2 separate regions of the Homo sapiens genome follow, and region 1 is linked to region 2. The links are contacts of gene promoters, found by promoter capture Hi-C in blood cells and fetal thymus (Javierre and others, 2016). All regions are on one chromosome and are shown on one strand. The core of a region is centred on a gene start or on the middle of the fragment in contact, and the rest is flanking DNA. Distances in the headings are between cores, read along the strand shown.

Region 1 (3,082 bases), core at 583-3,082, 170 kb after region 2:
GCTACTTGGGAAGCTGAGGTGGGAGGATCACTTGAGCTCAGGAGGTTGATGCTTCAGTGAGCCACGATCACACCACTGTACTCCAGCCTGGGCGACAGAGCGAGACCGTGTCTCAAAAAGAAAAAAGAAAGTATAAATTTACACAAAAACAATAAAATAATCCCAGTAATTCCACCACTTGGAGATGATCACCATAAAACTCCACCAGGCATATGTGCGTATATATACACGTGTATTTTATAAAATGTGATCATAATTACACTGTTTTGCTTTTTTCCTTAAGATATTACATACATTTTTCCACATCGTTAAATTACAGTGCTGTTTTCCTGGTGGCTTTCCTTTAACAGATTGAAGTTCATGTTAATACAGTTGCCAGAGGCTGTGGGCTTTCACTGTCACCAGGAGTCACTCCTAGGGCCTCTTCAGAGCAAGGCCTTATGTCCTGAAGCATTGCCTTTTTTTTTTTTTTTTGAGGTGGAGTCTCACTCTGTCACTTAGCAGGCTGGAGTGCAGTGGCCCAGTCTTGGCTCACTGCAACCTCCGCCTCCTGGGTTTAAATGATTCTCCTGCCTCAGCCTCAGGGCGGATCACCTGACATCAGGAGTTTGAGACCAGCCTGGCCAATATGGCGAAACCCCATCTCTACTAAAAATACTAAAAAAAATTAGCCAGGCATGGTGGCACGCACTTGTAGTCCCAGCTACTTGGGAGACTGAGGCAGGAGAATCGCTTGAACCCAGGATGTTGAGGTTGCAGTGAGCTGAGATCACACCATCACAATCCAGCCTGAGTGACAGAGTGAGACTCCATCTGAAAAAAAAGAAAAAACAATTAGCCTGGCATGGTGGCAGGCACCTGTAATCCCTGCTACTTGGGAGGCTGAGGCAGGAGAATTGCTTGAACCCGGGAGGTGGAGGTTGCAGTGAGCTGAGATCGTGCCATTGCATTCCAGGCTGAGCAACAAGAGCAAGACTCCGTCTCAAAAAAAAAAAAAAAAAAAAAAAAAGGCCAGGTGCAGTGGCTCACGCCTGTAATCCCAGCACTTTGGGAGGCCAAGGTGGGTGGATCACCTGAGGTCAGGAGTTCCAGAGCAGCCTGGCCAACATTGTGAAACCCCCGTCTCTACTAAAAATACAAAAATTAGCTGGGTGTGATGGCATGTGCCTGTAATTCCAGCTACTCAGGAGGCAGAGACAGGAGAATTGCTTGAACCCAGGAGGCGGAGGTTGAATGAGCCGAGATTGCGCCATCACACTCTAGCCTCGGCGACAGAGCAAGACTCCGTCTCAAAAAAAAAAAAAAAAAATTAGCTTCTACCTCATTAATCCTAAGAACTCATACAACCAGGACCCTGGAGTCGATTGATTAGAGCCTAGTCCAGGAGAATGAATTGACACTAATCTCTGCTTGTGTTCTCTGTCTCCAGCAATTGGGCAGATGTGTGAGGCACCTGTGGTGACCCGAGAGTGGGTGTTGGACAGTGTAGCACTCTACCAGTGCCAGGAGCTGGACACCTACCTGATACCCCAGATCCCCCACAGCCACTACTGACTGCAGCCAGCCACAGGTACAGAGCCACAGGACCCCAAGAATGAGCTTACAAAGTGGCCTTTCCAGGCCCTGGGAGCTCCTCTCACTCTTCAGTCCTTCTACTGTCCTGGCTACTAAATATTTTATGTACATCAGCCTGAAAAGGACTTCTGGCTATGCAAGGGTCCCTTAAAGATTTTCTGCTTGAAGTCTCCCTTGGAAATCTGCCATGAGCACAAAATTATGGTAATTTTTCACCTGAGAAGATTTTAAAACCATTTAAACGCCACCAATTGAGCAAGATGCTGATTCATTATTTATCAGCCCTATTCTTTCTATTCAGGCTGTTGTTGGCTTAGGGCTGGAAGCACAGAGTGGCTTGGCCTCAAGAGAATAGCTGGTTTCCCTAAGTTTACTTCTCTAAAACCCTGTGTTCACAAAGGCAGAGAGTCAGACCCTTCAATGGAAGGAGAGTGCTTGGGATCGATTATGTGACTTAAAGTCAGAATAGTCCTTGGGCAGTTCTCAAATGTTGGAGTGGAACATTGGGGAGGAAATTCTGAGGCAGGTATTAGAAATGAAAAGGAAACTTGAAACCTGGGCATGGTGGCTCACGCCTGTAATCCCAGCACTTTGGGAGGCCAAGGTGGGCAGATCACTGGAGGTCAGGAGTTCGAAACCAGCCTGGCCAACATGGTGAAACCCCATCTCTACTAAAAATACAGAAATTAGCCGGTCATGGTGGTGGACACCTGTAATCCCAGCTACTCAGGTGGCTAAGGCAGGAGAATCACTTCAGCCCGGGAGGTGGAGGTTGCAGTGAGCCAAGATCATACCACGGCACTCCAGCCTGGGTGACAGTGAGACTGTGGCTCAAAAAAAAAAAAAAAAAAAGGAAAATGAAACTAGAAGAGATTTCTAAAAGTCTGAGATATATTTGCTAGATTTCTAAAGAATGTGTTCTAAAACAGCAGAAGATTTTCAAGAACCGGTTTCCAAAGACAGTCTTCTAATTCCTCATTAGTAATAAGTAAAATGTTTATTGTTGTAGCTCTGGTATATAATCCATTCCTCTTAAAATATAAGACCTCTGGCATGAATATTTCATATCTATAAAATGACAGATCCCACCAGGAAGGAAGCTGTTGCTTTCTTTGAGGTGATTTTTTTCCTTTGCTCCCTGTTGCTGAAACCATACAGCTTCATAAATAATTTTGCTTGCTGAAGGAAGAAAAAGTGTTTTTCATAAACCCATTATCCAGGACTGTTTATAGCTGTTGGAAGGACTAGGTCTTCCCTAGCCCCCCCAGTGTGCAAGGGCAGTGAAGACTTGATTGTACAAAATACGTTTTGTAAATGTTGTGCTGTTAACACTGCAAATAAACTTGGTAGCAAACACTTCCACCATGAATGACTGTTCTTGAGACTTAGGCCAGCCGACTTTCTCAGAGCCTTTTCACTGTGCTTCAGTCTCCCACTCTGTAAAATGGGGGTAATGATAGTATCTACCTCCTAGGATTTATTGAGGCAGCTTAAATACCTTTTGTAT
Region 2 (3,521 bases), core at 756-3,255:
TTCAGCCTCTGGTCCCCATAGGGAATGAGAGCCACCAACTGCTTCTCCAGCTCTAGAGAGAGAGAAGGTGAGAGGGAGGGCCAAGATGCAACTGTGACAAATATTTACTGTGCCAGCTTCCCAGAAGCACGCCTCCACCCACACCATAGAGCAATGTTAGAAACATGCCACATCTGCCCCAGAGCAGGACTGGAAGCACTGGACTCTGCTACCAAAGTTGGCAGCTCAGCTTTGCCATCTCTAGAATGGAAGTGAGATTTCCACTAATAGGTATGAAGAATCTCTGAAAGTCACCAGCAAATCAGAGATGCCCAGCATCTTTGGAAAGTTCATTTGTAACTTCCTGAACTGAATGAATCCTAGGACACACAGTGTTGCTCAGAAGCACAGTGGCTAGAATCCTTCTTTCCCACAAGGGGCTGGAGAATACAACCAGGGAAGGAGGGCAGGTTTTTGCAGGGAACCCAAGGATAGTTAAGTATCTCCCTGGCCAGCCTGAGACTGGGAGGTCAAGAGCTGGGAGCAGATCTAACCCCATCCAAGGAGACTCAGAGGGGCTGCCCCAGGCCAACAGGCTAAGAACTTTCCCTGGATTCCAGGCTATTTCCAGAGCCTTGGGCCACTCACCTTGGGGAATCTTGCCACTGCCCTGGCAGGTGGGACAAGTCACGAAGCTGGCATCAGCAGTTCCTTCACAAGGCACACAGGAACAAAAAGACTTGCTGCTACCGGTGCTGGAGTAGTTGACAGCCTTGCTGCCAATGGCTGGTTTGGAGGACAGGATTGACTTGTTCTCATCCTCCCGCCAAGAGCCCAGCTGGGAAAACGTCTTACCCATTCTTCAGGGGCGGGGGTTTCACTAATGAGAAAAGACCAAAGTTCAGTGCTAAGCTTGTTAGCACTGACGCCAGATGTAATTTTGGTTTGAAGTTCTCAAGACTGGCAAGGAGCTTCACCACAGTTTAAGCAAGCTCAAGCCTAAGGAAGATAGGATGTGAAAAACTGGGTGGTCACATGGGACTCTCAGAAGTCTCAATGCATTTCGACTCCTTTCATTATTTTAAAAGAGACCAATCTGCCTACAAAAGGGAAAACAAAAGAAAAGCAGAAGTTACTTCACTTTAAGGAACTTCCATAAGTGATTGTCAGAGCATTTAATTTTTCTCTGGAAAAGTTGCTGAGCTGTCATTCAGTTTAAGGGAAGGAAGTTGGATAGGGCAGAAAAGAGATTCTTTGAATCAAGGAGAGAGGAGGCCAGACTGGTCACAGGTGTGGTTAAGACCCCTATCTAAAGAAGCCCTGGGAGAAAGCAGACACCTCACTGCTTTCTGAGGCGGGGTAAGAAAGCCTGAGGAGGGTCATAGTGATACCAGGGTCTGTCTTTCACTAGGAAAACTCAAGGCTAAATCTGGACTCTGTGTGACAGAACGAGGCCGGCAAGTGAGCCACACAGATCTTTCTGGGCTAAAATATAGGGATGCTCACCTTGTTCAGGTCTGGGATCCCAGGCTCCTCAGCCGCACGAGGGCGAGACTTCTGGAGTGCGTCTTTGGGGAGAAGGGCCTCTAAGGGCAGAGTGGGCTGGGCTGGGCTGAGCTGAGCTGGGCGGTGGTGGGGAGAAGCACCGCCTGGGGCCGGCAACCGGCCGGAGTCCTAGGGGAACGAATGTGCCGCACTGGAGAGTGGGGATAGTAAGGACGCTGACCTCCCCGAAGGGCCAAGCCGATTCCTGGGCTACATGGGGGCTCTGCCATGGGCCGACCGGGTGGAAGCGGACGGAGAAGGTGTGACTTCATTAAGGGAGGATTTCAAGTCCCACCACACACCCCTAGAGGCCGTTAGTCAAGCTTGGTACCCGTGCGGGGGGCGCCTGTGTGTTGGGCGAGGAGGCGGCAACAGGAGGTGTCTTGACCTCCGAAAGGTAAAGTAGGTATAAAGGGTCTAGGGAGGGCCTTACCCGCGGACGACTGCAGCGACAGAAACGGAAGAGAGTGGAATCGAAAATGCGGGAGCGAACACTCCCCTCAAGCTTTGACTCAGTGCCCAGGGAAGTCCCGCCCCAGCCCCTAAGGGCCCACCCCCCCGTCCCCCGGTCCGCCCCTTCGCCACGCAGCAGCCTGAGACGCTGCCAGCTCTTCAAACGTTACCCGAGGGCCCGGACGCTGCTTCCGCAAGGACTAGCCAGTCCGGGTAGGAATTTCCAAGAACATTTATTTCACCATTCTTTAGGTGGTTATGTACAAGTACATACATAACCAGGAGAGCAACCCGGGCCCTCCTGGCCCTCGATTATAAAACTCCGATGGTCAAGACAGGTCCCACCCATCAACCCAATTACACCCTGCCGCTCCACCTTCTACCCGGAAGCCCCGATTAAAACGTTTTAAATAATGAACGGCCTGGCTGGCTTGCAGTTTGAATCCTGGTTTATTTAAGTAGCATTCAGGAGTTATACTGTAAATAAACATCATTATGGCTAATGACTAATTAAAATCACCATTCATTACAAATACCAACCAGGTTAGATAATACTATTAACTATCTTTTCCCCTTCGGTCTGGGGTTCATATTCTTCCTTTTCTGGAAGTCATTTTCATGGATAAAATATTTAGCATTTTTTGTTACCTCTTCCTTCACCAACTGTACTCAACACACTTCTGTAAACAGAGTGAGAACCTGGGTTCATGGACAAGCTCTTTTCCACTTATCTTCGGGTTAAACCAAAACTTTTTCAGCAACTTTGCCCCTGTCCAAGTTTTGCAGAACACCAGCTGCCTCTTCCTGTTCTAGGCATTCTAGGGCTAGATACCTGTGAACGGACTTCAAGCATTAAAGAAGTCATCAGCATTTCCTATACCTCACACACACTCATTTGCCCACCCTGAACTTCACTGACATTAATTTAGGAGCCTGCCTTTTGCCTTTCACATGTTTCTATTTCCCCCACTGTACTGTAAAATAAGATCTGCCCTGACATTAAGAAAAAAGGCAACTGTTAAATTTACTTTTCCCTTTAAATAACGGGATTTTTTCCTTTTCTATAAGATTAGCAAAATATTTCACAATACCTATATTTTTTCCCTTAAATAAAAATGTATGCAAAATTACTATAATAGACATTGCTCAATAGGTGCTGGTAGGTTTATCAGCACACTCTTCCTCCTTTCATTGAAATGCGGAGATTCCCTTGAAGTTGGATACTCTTGAATGCACCATGGAGTCTTTAGAAAGCAACGGTGCCAATTATTAAGTATTGCAGGAAAATTACTTTCTCCTTGAGAGAGGAAGAGTAACAACATTTCTATCATGCTCTGGGTGTTATTTCAATGCCAAATAACTATGAAGCTTGAGGTGGATTACAGAAATTATGAGAATAAGAATTATGAGAATAATTCTTAAAAACAACTTCCGAGGTTAATGTCTTTCAAAACCTGAAAATTAACAGATATCCCCATAAAAAATCCACATTAGCCAAAGAAAAATACTCAGTTTCAATAAAAGCAGAAAGAAAAATGGTTCTA

Evidence for each region. The method cuts DNA at HindIII sites, captures the fragments that hold promoters and counts their contacts. A CHiCAGO score of 5 or more calls a contact.
Region 1: a fragment that was not itself captured here is called in contact with the fragment with the promoter of TMEM106A in region 2 in 3 of 17 cell types (endothelial precursors, megakaryocytes and M1 macrophages); the score reaches 8.3 in endothelial precursors.

What each region holds. Positions count from the first base shown.
Region 1 is chr17:43,044,150-43,047,231 of GRCh38, reverse strand. BRCA1 (BRCA1 DNA repair associated) reads left to right here. Exons shown (of 23, transcript NM_007294.4): 23 at 1,430-2,937. The coding sequence ends at 1,554. Among named protein-coding and RNA genes, the nearest start is that of RND2, 20 kb to the right of the region's middle. The HindIII fragment of the contact is 9,714 bases long and covers 1-3,082 here.
Region 2 is chr17:43,210,359-43,213,879 of GRCh38, reverse strand. TMEM106A (transmembrane protein 106A) reads right to left here and starts at 2,005. Exons shown (of 9, transcript NM_145041.4): 1 at 1,958-2,005; 2 at 1,486-1,653; 3 at 628-859; 4 at 1-52. The coding sequence starts at 838. NBR1 (NBR1 autophagy cargo receptor) reads right to left here. Exons shown (of 21, transcript NM_005899.5): 21 at 2,192-3,521. The HindIII fragment of the contact is 182 bases long and covers 1,850-2,031 here.